Regions from separate parts of the Homo sapiens genome. Here region 1 is linked to region 2. Evidence: promoter capture Hi-C in human tissues and cell types (Jung and others, 2019). All regions are on one chromosome and are shown on one strand. The core of a region is centred on a gene start or on the middle of the fragment in contact, and the rest is flanking DNA. Distances in the headings are between cores, read along the strand shown. Region 1 has its middle 49 kb from the start of LINC02434. Region 2 holds the start of TRIML1 (tripartite motif family like 1).

Region 1 (7,154 bases), core at 328-2,827, 72 kb before region 2:
ATATAAAATAAATAAAATCTCAATAGTGTGTATGACTGTCAGCAACACACAGCTAAATATAATCCAAATTAATATTGTATTTGGCCGGGCGCTGTGGCTTATGCCTGTAATCCCAGCACTTCAGGAGGCCGAGGCAGGTAGATCACCTGAGGTCAGGAGTTCGAGACCAGCCTGACCAACATGGCAAAACCCCGTCTCTACTAAAAATACAAAAATTACCTGGGCGTGGTGGCAGGTGCCTGTAATCTCAGCTACTTAGGGGGCTGAGGCAGGAGAATCGCTTGAACCTGGGAGGCTGAGGCGGAAGTTGTAGTGAACAAAGATCGCGCCATTGCACTCCATCCTGAGCGACAAGAGCAAAACTCCATCTCACAAAAAAAAAAAGAAATATATATATATATAGTATTTGTATTAGAAATGTTGAGAATGAAAGTAACAGTAAAATATGTGACCTACAGAAAGAAAAAAATCAAAACCTTCTAGAGAATTTCTGTTTAAAAATCAGTAAAAGTTTTCTAGCTTACTGCTAGATAAAAGACTTTCACCTTTATTACAACACAAAAAAATACTCATATTAAGATCATTTGTGGACTCCCTTTTCCAAACCCAAGGTGTTCATTTCAGATCTCACACCAGTAGGCATCTCCTCAGATTTGTATTTGTTAACCATGCCTTGCTTTGAGAATCTTTCTTCTTTTGAAATCTTCAGAATTTTCTCTCTCCTAGTTTCCTCCAATCTCCAGTTTCTACTTCCCACTTTCTTTCCTTGGCCTCCCCTCTCTCTATATAACCTAATATTGAGATCCTTTCATGTTTTTATGTTTTCCTTATTTTCACTTTCAAAACCCAAATTTCCACCTAGTTCACACCTCAATATACTGTAATTTGACTTTGAACATGTCCAACACATCTGCTCCTAGACTGCAAACTTTACCAAAACAAAAATAAATATCTAATTCATCTTTGTATAACCAATGCCGCATTAACACAGAGCTTGGCATATAAAAGACTTAATACATGTTTGTTAAATAAATGAACAGATTTAAAATTTGTTAAATTTATGACAATTTATAAACTAAATTCATTTTTTAAATGTGGTAAATATATATAATGGAATACTATTCAGCCATAAGAAGAATGATGTCCTGTCATTCACGGCAACATGGATGAGCCTGGAGGACTTTATGTGAAGGGAAATAAGCCAGGCACAGAAACACAAATACGTTCTCACTCATATGTGGGAGCTTAAAAAGTTGATCTCATTGAAAGAGAGAGCAGAATGCAGGTCACCAGGGGCTGGGAACTGGCGGAGAAGGATGAAGAGAGGTTGCTTAACATGTACAAACATAATTAGACAGAAGGCATAAGTTCTAGTGTTCAATAGCACAGTAGAGTAACAGTAGTTAACAATAATTTATTGTATATTTCAGAATAACTAGATTTAAAATGTTCTCAACGGCCGGGCACAGTGGCTCACGCCTGTAATCCCAGCACTTTGGGAGGCCGAGGCGGGCGGATCACGAGGTCAGAAGATCAAGACCATCCTGGCTAACATGGTGAAACCCCGTCTTTACTAAAATACAAAAAATTAGCCGGGCGTGGTGGTGGGCGCCTGTAGTCCCAGCTACTCGGGAGGCTGAGGCAGGAGAATGGCGTGAACCCAGAAGGCGGAGCCTGCAGTGAGCTGAGATTGCGCCACTGCACTCCAGCCTGGGCGACAGAGCGAGACTCCGTCTCAAAAAAAAAAATAAATAAATAAATAAATAAATAAATAAATAAATAAATAAATAAAATGTTCCAACACAAAGAAATGAGGTTTGCGATGATAGGTATCCTGACATGTTCACTGCATTGTATGCAGAGATCAAAATATCACCTATGGCCAGGCACGGTGGCTCCCACCTGTAATCCCAGCACTTTGGGAGGCCGAGGCGGGCAGATCACTATGTCAGAAGATCCAGACTATCCTGGCCAATACGGTGAAACCCCGTCTCTACTAAAAATGCAAAAATTAGCTGGGCGTGTTGGGGGACGCCTGTAATCCCAGCTACTCAGGAGGCTGAGGCAGGAGAATCACTTGAACCTGGGAGGCGGAGGTTGCAGTGAGTCCAGATGGCGCCACTGCACTCCAGCCTGGAGATAGGGCGAGACTCTGTCTAAAAAAAAAAAATAAATAATAAATAAATAAATAATCACATGTACCCCATATATGGGTATGATTATTATGTATCAATTTTAAAAAATAAGGAAGTTGAAAGAGTTCCATCAGACTATATTACACATCACCAAAAAAGCCATTTGGTAAAACTGCAATGAGATACAACTGCACACCCACTAGCATGTCTAAAGCTAAAACAACTGACTGTACCAAGTGTTGCCCAGTATGTGGAGGGACTAAAACTCTCACATGCTGGTAGTAGGAATGTCGAATACACGGAACTTTGGAAAAGAGTTTGGCGATTTCTTACAAAGTTAAATACACACCTACCGTATGACCCAGCCAATTTTAGGTATTTATCCAAGAAAGATAAAAGTATATGCTCATTGAAAAAGCTATCCACAAATGTTTATATCAAGTTTCTTTGTAGAGGAGAAGACCAGAAAAGTCAATGGGATAACTTTCTACATAAAACTGTTTATTTTAAGCATTAAGCTTGCTAAGATTGGGGGGACAGATGCATTAGGGATTTAGGAATGGGGGAAGATGTGAGGGTCTTATCCAGCATGAGTGCCTTAGCAGGTTAGTGAATAGGATGCACGCATCCGTATTCTGCCCTCAGCTTGGCTGCGTGCTCTTGTGATCGGTTGTGTTAGGAGATACAGTTGCAAGCAGGGATGTTTGTTTGGGGAAACGCCTGTGAGACTGACTGAAAGGAAAGAAGAATGGACTGTCTGAGGAAACAACATCAATCTGAAATTAAATCTTCCTTGACATTGCCCAGAGTAACTTATTCTGGCTTTCCAAGGGTGAGATGACTGATAGCAAAGCTGAAAGTACATGATTCTAGTTTTTTGTTGTTGTTTTTTTTTTTTTTTTCAGATGGAATCTCGCTCTGTTGCCAGGCTGGAGTGCAGTGGGGCGATCTCGGCTCACTGCAAGCTCCGCCTCCCAGGTTCACCCCATTCTCCTGCCTCAGCCTCCGGAGTAGCTGGGACTACAGGCGCCCGCCACCACGCCCGGCTAATTTTTGTATTTTTAGTAGAGACGGGGTTTCACCATGTTAGCCAGGATGGTCTCGATCTCCTGACCTCGTGATCTGCCCACCTCGGCCTCCCAAAGTGCTGGGATTACAGGCGTGAGCCACCGTGCCCGGCCACACGATTCGTAAATAAATTTCTTTGCATGGTTCCAATTTATGCTACTCCATGTATTACTTCTGATACCCAGAGACACAAGGCTGCTGCCACACCTGTGCAGCATGAGACCACCATACACACTTCCGTGCACTTCTCTTTCCCGTACTCAGGCGTGACCTACAGAATTATGTATTCCCCACAATATTCCAGGATTGCACCACGCGACACGGAATGTGCCACAAGCACAACCATGAAAATGTAATATAAGTGGCAAATCTGAGGCCAAAGCAAAACAAAAGTAAGAAGTAAGATGAGCTGGAGCTGTGGGTGATAAACAAAGATAATGGGTACGTAATTTATCACCTAAACACAGAGCACTTCGGAAAGGGCAGGGAGTGAGTCTCCACCAACATAAATAAATGACTGCACAGCACAAGTAAATAAATGAATGGGGAGAAGAGACAAATCTCCTTAACAGAAGGATTCCTAGCAATCGATGGACACTGCACCTGCAGAAGGGAAGCGTGAGTCACTGCTCCGTACGTGTGAGCTGCACACAGTGACCTCCCTCTGAGGAGTTCAGTGTGGGGTGGGGGGAGTGGGTCTGCAATGAAGAAACCTAACCAACGCTTCTCGGCAGGGGATCGAGGTCAACATCCACTGTGAGGAATCCTGTAGTATGCACCTCTGATGTGAGGCGAGAGGAACGCCGCTTTGCCGCTCTTGTCTTCCTCTCCAGAACTCGTAATACCGATCAAATGATGAGAAGAACATCAGATAAATTTCAACAGAGGGCATCCTGCAGAATGATTGACCAGTACTCCTCAAAACTGTCAAGGTCCTCGAAAACAAGGAAAATCTGAGAAACAGCCCCAGCCAAGGAGAGCCTGCGGGGCGTGACAACTCAGGGCAAGGTGGGATCCTGGAACTGAAAAAGACATCAGGTAAAACTAAAGATGTCAGAATAAAACACAGACTTTAGTTAATAGGACAGTAAGGCCTCACTTAGACCTCCTCAATAGAGGAGGAGACCTTAGACCTCCTCAATAGGTTCTTGGAATAATGAAACCAATTTTCCAACAGGCTAATTGATATAGAGAAGAATTCAGTTCTATAGCATATTTCTGGTCACAAAAACATCCTTCTATCAATTATTCTAGTATTTTATTTTATTTTTATTTTTGAGATGGAGTCTCGCTCTGTCACCCAGGCTGGAGTGCCGTGGCGCGATCTCAGCTCATTGTAATCTCTGTCTCCCATGTTCAAGAGACTCTTCTGCCTCAGCCTCCTGAATAGCTGGGACTACAGGTGCCCGCCACCATGCCTGGCTAATTTTTGAATTTTTGTATTTTAGTAGAGATGGGGTTTCACCGTCTGCATCAGGCTGGTCTCGAACTCCTGGCCTCAGCTGTTCCTCGCGCTCCTAAAATGCTAATTACAGGTGTGAACCACTGCACCCAGCCTACTTTTATGTTTTTTTTCTGTTTCTTCCAAACTACCATTTCTCTTCATTAATTATCTCTCTATTTTCTAGTTTATATATATATAAACTAAATAAATATAAATATGTAAACATAAAGTGTATGTGTGTGTATATATACACACACACACACACACTTTTTTGTGGGGGCATGGAGTCTCGCTCTGCCTCAGCCTCCGGAGTAGCTGGGACCACAGGCGCCCACCACCACACCCGGCTAGTTTTTTGTATTTTTAGTAGAGACGGGGTTTCACCATGTTGGCCAGGATGGTCCTAATCTCCTGACCTCGTGATCCGCCCACCTTGGCTTCCCAAAGTGCTGGAATTACAGGTGTGAGCCACTGTGTCTGGCCATATTCTAGTATTTATTTAAACTACTTCCACCACACTGAGCAAAAATGACCTTATAGTTAATTTATGTGTGTCTTATTTTCTATGTTACATTATAAATAGCTGGAGAACAGAATTATTTCTTGATCCATTTTTGCCATCCCCATGGAATCTGGCCCAGTTCCTCATGCGCAGCAGCTCTCAGTAACCACACATGCAAATCCTCTCTAAGGTAAGTCCACCTTGGCCATAGGTTCGTGGAAACTGTGATTTGAAGCTAAATTACTGTAACAAAACAAATTTTCCCGTAGGCTAATGCCACAGACCAGGGTGAAGTTCCTGTAGTGTATTTCTGGTCACAGAAACATGACTGAACTTCTAAGTAAAGACCAAAACAGTTCTCATATTAAACATTGAAATAAATGTCAGCTAGATGTACATTTAAGAAAGATTAATAAAAACAAGTGAGATAATGACTTACCTGCTTATCCAGTTCAGGATCGCGGGTGGCCACAGCCCATCCCTGCAGCTCAGGGTGCCAGGCAGGACCCTTCCTGGCCAGGACGCTCTCCCAGGGCAAGATGACACCCTCACCCAAATTCACACTCACCCTCACATTCACTCTCACCCTCACATCCACACTCACCCACCACTCACTTTCACTCACTCACACTCACCCACACTCATCCACTCACCCTCACATCCACACTCACCCTCACATCCACACTCACCCACCACTCACATTCACTCACTCACACCCACCCACACTCATCCACTCACCCTCCCTCACTCATATTCACTCACATTCACTCCCTCACACTCACACTCACCCTGATTCACTTACATTCACTCAGCCACACTCTCACTCACCCTCATTCACCCACACTCGCCCTCACCCATCCACACTCACTCTCCCACACCCGCACTCACCCACACTCACTCACCCCAGTACCATGGAGACGTGCTGGTGAACCCAATGAGCACAGCTTTGGGAACTGGAAGAACCGTGAGAACCTGAAGAAAATCCACACAGACATGGGGATAACCTGTAAACTCCACACAGGTGACCTTGCTGGGAAGCCACTTTTAAAAAATTAACATTGTAGGCCAGGCGCTGTGGCTCACACCTGTAATCCCAGCACTTTGGGAGGCCAAGGTGGGTGGTTTACCTGAGGTCAGGAGTTCGAGACCAGCCTGGCCAACATGGCAAAACCCTGTCTCTACTAAAAGTACAAAAATTAATTAGCCAGGAGTGGTGGTGGGCCCCTATAATCCCAGCTAATCAGGAGGCTGAGGCAGGAGAATTGCTGGAACCCGGGAGACAGAGGTTGCAGTGAGCCGAGATTATGCTGCTCACTGCACTCCAGCCTGGCCAACAAGAGCCAGACTCCATCTCAAAAAAAAAAAAAAAAAAAAAAATTAACATTGTAACAAACTAACATTGGGAAAAACATGTTATTCAAGGAACTGCTTTAATGTATCAAAATTGGTTTATTAATTGTAACAAAGGTTAAGAGGTTGATAATAGGAGAAACCAGGTGCAGGGTATGAGAACTCTGCATCTCTCTATTTTTCTGTAAATCTAAAATTGTTCTAAAAATAAAATCTCCTTTTTTTTTTTTTTGAGATGGAATTTCACTCTTGTTGCCCAGGCTGGAGTGCAATGGCACTATCTCGGGTCACTGCAAACTCCACCTCCTTGGTTCAAGCTATCCTCCTGCCTCAGCCTCCCGAGTAGCTGGGATTACAAGCATGCACCTCTATGCCTGGCTAATTTTTCGTATTTTTAGTAGAGATGGGTTTCACCATGTTGGCCAGCTGTATCCCAGCTACTCGGGAGGCTGAGGCACGAGAATCACTTGAACCCAGGAGGCGGAAGTTGCAGTGAGCCAAGATTGCGCCACTGCACTCCAGCCTGGTAACAGAGTGAGACTCCGTCTCAAAAAAAAAAAAAAAAAAAAAAAGTGCTCAGAGGCCGCGAAAGTAATAGCACATAATGCATTAATTAATATGCCAGATCTGCCAACTTGCCAGGTTACATTGGAAC
Region 2 (6,772 bases), core at 3,681-6,180:
AAAAAAAGACCCTTTAGACAGAAAACAAAGCCAGATAAAGCCTGAGTCAAGTCTCACTGCTTCTCTCTGCTCACGCTCAGAGACGGTCTGTGGCCCCAGCCCTCCCTGGTGTTCCGTGCTGGCCCGGATTCCTTAACCAGGAGCCTCGTGTCAGATCGTGAATGTCTGACACTGGAAGAAGGTATGCTGAAGTTAATTCTTCGAGCCCCGGAGGGGTAACAAATCAGGCTGACTTACTGCTGAATTTTCTTAGCATCTCCTTCATTCCCGTGATGCGGCACAGACTCAGCTCTGTGGTGGTGGCCTCTGGACACTGAAGCAAGAGTGGCTCGCTCCTGCAAGAGAGCAGAGAGGTTCACTCCTCGGCACAGACCGCGTGACCTGCTCCAGCTGGAGAGTCCACCTCATTTCTCCCCCAGCAACAGCGCAGACCTCCTATCCCCACTCAGAACTGTCCATCAGCACCACTGCCCCGCAGCTTGCATAACTGAACACAGAATGAAAGCCTACCTTTCCAGGGCTCCTCTCACTTCCTACGGGTAAAAAAGAAAGAAGTTAGCATGGTGCGCTTTGATCATAACACAGACGAAATTCATTTTGCATACAGTCCTTGCAAAGCTCACAGAATCTGCTTCCCATGAAGCACACCATGAGTGGGAGCACAGAGAGCAGAGAAAAGCGTCCCCAGTTTCTTCCAGGGATGTGCTGTGGTGAACACAAGGTGTTTCTCACAATGACTAGAGAATACTTTGTCCTTTTCTTTTTCTCGTATCATCACCTTGTCCAGGGAACCTGTTCTGCAAACAAGCCAACCTGTTAGTCTCGATCATCCAGTGAGAGGCAGAGATAACAAAGGAAAATGGGCTGGTGAGAACTGAGGCTAACCAAGCCTGTGTCAGGTCGGGGTGGTGTGTTTGGAAGGCACTAAATTAAATAGTAGCACTCTGTGGAACCAGTCTACAAAACAGACCTGAAGCTGGAGTTGGATCACATGGCTTATGTTTAAGAAAGTCCACGGCCGGGTGCCGGTGGCTCTCGCCTGTAATCCCAGCCTTTTGGGAGGCCAAGGTGGATGGATCACAAGGTCAAGAGATAGAGACCATCCTGGCCAACATTGTGAAACCCCGTCTCTACTAAAAATACAAAACTTAGCTGGGCATGGTGGCACACGCCTGTAATCCCAGCTACTTGGGAGGCTGAGGCAAGAGAATTGCTTGAACCCAGGAGGCGTAGATTGCAGTGAGCCAAGATTGCACCACTGCACTCCAGCCTGGGCGACAGTGCGAGACTCTGTCTCAAAAAAAAAAAAAAAGGTCCTGAAGAATGCAGCAGCCTAGAAGGGCAGTAGACCAAAGGTGGTGAGAAATAGGAGCTCCCTGCACAGAACAGGAGGGCTCTCCTGTCTATTAACTATCAGGCGGGCAGATCTCGTTAGTACCACAGGTATGAATAATTAAATCAGTGCCGCTATTAACCCATCCTGTAGATGACAGTCATCTAGACCTAGAGTTCATATCATAATGGTACTTATCTTCATCAGGTCTTTGTGAAGATTAAATTTAATGTGCCCAGCACATAGTAAATACACATTAATAAACTAGAAAAAAAAATTAACAAAGCTGAGGTTGCAGAGAGGCAGGTACAGAAGAAATTGAAGCCACTCTCAGGCTTGTTTGGGATAGTTATTCCTCTGGATGTGTTTTTTTTTTTCTCTCTCTCTCTCTTCTATAAGGCTTTATTGACATATAGAATGTCAATTCTTTAGGAAAACTACTTTTGGACCAGAACTTAGTTTTTAAGATGAATAAAGAAAACATTATTTCCTATGGCTTGAAGTACTATGAGTTACTATAATTTTTCCCATTACTCTCATGAATGTTATTCTCACCTCAAGAGATTCGAAAGCCGAGCTTTGACTTGAGGACTCAATCTGTGCGATCATTTTGCTTAGGCTTCTGATTTGCTGGGTCAGTTTGATCTCATTGTTCCTCAGCTTCCTCATGTTCTCTTTCTCTTCCTGTTCTAGTAGCTGGAGTTGCAGCTGCTCCTCTTCCTTCAGGAACTGGTGCATTTTCATGTATTCTGACACAACAACCTGTTTACAAGTCTTTGTTTCTTCCTGCCAAAACACACACACACACACACACACACACACACACACACGAGATAAAGTTAGTAAGAGAAATGCCCTTGTCTGTAGATTTTTAATCCTTACAAGTCCTAGAGTTTCTTTCTTTCTTTTTTTTTTTTTTTTTGAGATGGAGTCTCACTCTGTCGCCAGTCTGAAGTGCAGTGGCGCAATCTCGGCTCACTGCAACCTCTGCCTCCTGAGTTCAAATGATTCTCCTGCCTCAGCCTCCTGAGTAGCTGGGACTATAGTCTAGGAGTGTGCCACCACGCCCAGCTAATTTTTGTATTTTTAGTAAAGATGGGGTTTCACCATGTTGGTCAGGATTGTCTCAAGTCTCTTGACCGGGTGACCCACCCTCCTCAGCCTCCCAAAGTGCTGGGATTACAGGTGTGGGCCACCATGCCTGGCCAAGTCCTAGAGTTTCATGGCAACAATTCCTGAAATCCAACATATAATACATTTAATCTGTTGATGCGCTGGGTGTAGAGGTTGATGTTTTCGGAGGTATGTGCGCTATAGATACAATAGTAAACAAAACCAAAATCTCCATTCCCAGGAGGCGGTCGTTCTAGTGGAGAAAACCAAAAATGAGTAAGAAATATGACAAGTAGTGATCAGGACTATGATACAAATAAAACAAAATTAAGAAAAATTATGAAAAATGTGTGTTCATTTATTCAACAAATATTTATTCAATGAAAGTAGGTGTCAGATAACCAAAAAGGAACAGAAACATACATGGCAAATACTCTCACTTAAGAATTCAAAGTCTACGGCCAAGCACGGTGGCTCACACCTGTAATCCCAGCACTTTGGGAGACCGAGACAGGTGGATTACCTGAGGTCGGGAGTTCGAGATCAGCCTGGCTAACATGGTAAAACCCCATCTCCACAAATATACAAAATTAGCTGGGCATGGTGGCACACGTCTGTAATCCCAGCTACTCAGAAGGCTGAGGCAGGAGAATCACTTGAACCCGGGAGGTGGAGGTTGCAGTGAGCCGGGATCGCGCCACTGCACTCCAGCCTGGGCGACAGAGAGAGACTCCATCTCCAAAAAAAAAAAAAAAAAAACAGATTTCAAAGTCTATTGGGAGAATCAGATACATGGTTTTAAAAAATATATAATTTGATATTTAGTCCTTTGCTTTGACTGCTGGAGAGCTCAAATCCAAGTCCGTGACCAACCTTGAGGACTTGTCAGGTATCATTTAAACCACTATTTTGCTTTTATATCTCTGTCTCTTTATTTTTTTTAATTTGCATTTTCCCCTCCATGTTTTTGAGATATTTCTTTTTAAAATCGCTTTCCGTCTCATGTTACATGTCTATAAGTATCACTTGTGTTTTAAATAATTCTACCAGAGCCATCATAGAGGAAGCCACAGCGTTGTCTAGTTATGCAAAGGAGGCTCCTAGAGGGGGCGAATTGCAGCTGAGCCTTGAGACTCCCACGAGGACGCTCAGAAGAAGGCAGCCCAATGCAAGGAAACTGCATATTTTAGAGGTGAGACTGGAAAAATTTGTCTTTTTTTTTTCCTGATATTTCACTAAATTTCCCTTTAGTCCCCCTTATGGGGTCATATACAAGCAGCAAAAGTCAGACAGACACCGACCTGGCACAGTTTCACTCTCTCCTTCTCATGGGTTAGTACAGCCTGAGCTTCCTTTCTCCTTACACGCAAAAGATTCAGGATTTCCTGGAGTTTCTCCTGCAATAGAAACAAACCCTTTCTGGCAAATGAGCAGAGTCCCAGGTCATGAAGGGGCTTTGAAGACCAGTAACTGCGCAGTCCTAGGCCTCTAAAACAAAGGGCAGGCTGGGTGCGGCGCCTCACGCCTGTAATCCCAGCACTTTGGGAGGCCGAGGCAGGCGGATCACCTGAGGTCAGGAGTTCAAGACCAGCCTGGCCAACATGGTGAAACCCCGTCTCTATTAAAAATACAAAAAATTAGCCGGGCGTGGTGGTGGGTGACTGTAGTCCCAGCTACTGGGGAGGCTGAGGCAGGAGAATGGCGTGAACCTGGGAGGCGGAGGTTGCAGTGACTGAGATCGCACTGCTGCACTCCAGCCTGGGCAACAGAGCAAAACTCTGTCTCAAAAACAAAAAAAGGGAAAAAAAAGGGTGTAAACTGGACCCACGCCAGTTTGTGATGTGGTGCTCAGATGGGCCCTCGTGACTGTCCCCCACAGAGGACGTTAGGAAACGTCAGGAAAGCTAACGGAGTTAGCTGCGATGAGTCGTGGGGTTCATGCTGAGCAGCTGTCTTACTCTGTGATGCTCCTCAGCCTCGCTGGAGAGATGCACTCTGTTTGCACCATGGCTCTGGGCTACGAAGGCGCTTCCACCCTGCTCGTCATCGGAGAGCGCCTTGGCAGTGGTGGGCATCCTCCCGTAGCTGCCCTGCTCATCCTCGCTCTGCAGCACCTGGGACCGGAGCTGCCTGGCGATGCTGGCCAGCCTCCCCAGACGCTCGTTTGACTGGAAATGCGGGCCCTCCAAGGTCCTCCAGCACTCAGGACAAGATAAAGGTGTGTTATGTTCCTCCCAGCTCCTGAGGAGACACACCAGACAAAAGCTGTGCCCACACTCGGTGGTCACTGGGCTGCTGAAATAGTCTAAGCAGATGAAACAGGTGAGTTCCTCCCTGAGGTTCTCCATCAGATCTGCTGTAGACATTTTCTCGAGGCTGGATATGCAGCCAGGTTACACCTCTGTTCTGGGATTAGCAAAGCCCTCACTGCCGTCCTACAGTTTTGAGTAACACGCGGGTGACCTGTTCCTATGTTGTTATGACAAGAAACCCTTATCTCTTCTGTGCCTGATTTCACCAGCTGACATACACTGTCCAACACAAAGCCAATTATGACTTAATGTGGAACTCCTGTATACTGGGCTCCTCACCAACCCCAAACTTTGAGACTTATCTCTGTGAAAAGCACACATGCTAGAGGCTGAGGATTCTGGCTTCTAACAGGATTACCATTTTGAGAACTGGTTATTGTACATAAACAGCACTGTGGAACCATGTGAGCATGTGGGTTTTAGGCTGGAAGCTTGGGTGATTTGGTGTAAACCAGTAAAGAGATTTGAGTTTTGATGATCTCTAATAATATCTGAATTGGAAATTTGGTCCAAATCTTTTGGGAACTCCACTAATAAAACCTAGTTGAGAACTGAGAGAAGAAAACTGTAATACATAGTCCTTTTCTCATTAGCCCCTTTTGTTCTGCTTGACCAAAGCCTAAGCTTTTGTTCCTTTATTGGGTACTGTGTACTTTTATTTAATTTTATTCATCCCAACAAAATGAGAGCTCTTCCACTGAAGTATTCCTTGGTGTTAGGCGCACGATGAATTGCCAGAGCTGTTTATTGATCTTCCCTGCACACCCTAGTACTCACCCATCTGCCATCTTGGAAAGCATCTAAAATGACATTCTAATTGGAAGTTGCCTCAAGAGGCTATCCCACTATGGAGCAGATGGAAAGAATTATATTTTAGTATAAATGTAATTTTGCTCACTTATTTTCACCCATTGAAAATTTCCAAACTAGGCCCCTTCAAATCCCTGATTATCAGTTCTTACTGGACAGAAATGAAGTGTGCAGACATTTTTTCGGACATATGAAAAAGTAAATGCCTAGTGTGGAGACTGTGCACAGTGAACTCCGAGATTGGTAACAAATGCCACAAATTCACTGTGTCCCCTGCTCGGGAGTCAGCTCCTGTCCTGGCCTGCCTTCTGCTCACTGCATGCCAGGAAGTTGCACCTCAAAAGCTCTTCCTCAAAGGCCAGCGAGTTTGACCTTCCCACGAACTCATCACGCCATATTTCTGTCTCCGTCCCCTCACTCTCCAGCTTGGCAGCCTTCCACGAGTCGGGTCCATTACTCAGGCTGTTCCGTTCATTGGTTTCTGACTTTCAAGGCTCCAACTGCTACTTCTTTCCCACTTACCTCCAACAGGATGTTGGATGTTTTCTTATCTTGAACTTTGGGAAAAAGAAGTTTTCTGGCTGAGAATGTTTTTTCCTCCACCTTCCTTTCTCCTAGTCAAAACTCACCTTTCTGAAATCATTAATTCAAAATGTTTCAATCCTATACATCCCTTGTAAAGCATACGTGAATTGCTAGGATGAGAATTTAAGCTATGAAAAAATAAGAGCAAAGAGTTATACTACTGTAAAGAGGAAGAGAGGTGGCATCAGGGTGGCATCATGAAACCTCTACCAAGATAGCCTCCAGGATACTAACTTGTCACAGCTTCAGAATATTGCTATGAGTTAGTCTTGTAAGAGTCTTAAAAAAAAAAAGAAAAAAAGTTTGGCCAGGCGCGGTTGCTCACATCTGTAATCCCAGCAGTTTGGGAGGCCGAGGTGGGTGGATCACTTGAGGTCAGGAGTTTAAGACCAGCCTGGCCAACATGGTGAAACTCCGTCTCTACTAAAAATATGAAAATTAGGCCGGGTGCAGTGGTTCATGCCTGTAATCCCAGCACTTTGGGAGGCTGAGGCAGGCAGATCACTTGAGGTCGGGAGTTCGAGACCAGCCTGGCCAACATGGAGAAACTCCGTCTCTACTAAAAATACAAAATTAGCCGGGCATGGTGGCACATGCCTGTAATCCCAGCTAGTCAGGA

What was found. The method cuts DNA at HindIII sites, captures the fragments that hold promoters and counts their contacts. A contact is called where the count stands out against the background at its distance.
Region 1: a fragment that was not itself captured here is called in contact with the fragment with the promoter of TRIML1 in region 2 in 2 of the 25 tissues and cell types used here (H1 embryonic stem cells and spleen).

Annotation. Positions count from the first base shown.
Region 1 is chr4:188,205,682-188,212,835 of GRCh38, reverse strand. No RefSeq gene overlaps it. Among named protein-coding and RNA genes, the nearest start is that of LINC02434, 49 kb to the right of the region's middle. The HindIII fragment of the contact is 9,513 bases long and covers 1-6,333 here.
Region 2 is chr4:188,137,599-188,144,370 of GRCh38, reverse strand. It overlaps TRIML1 (tripartite motif family like 1), which reads right to left and starts at 4,930. Exons shown (of 6, transcript NM_178556.5): 1 at 4,405-4,930; 2 at 3,748-3,843; 3 at 1,889-2,119; 4 at 511-533; 5 at 238-335. The coding sequence starts at 4,812. The HindIII fragment of the contact is 25,840 bases long and covers 1-6,772 here.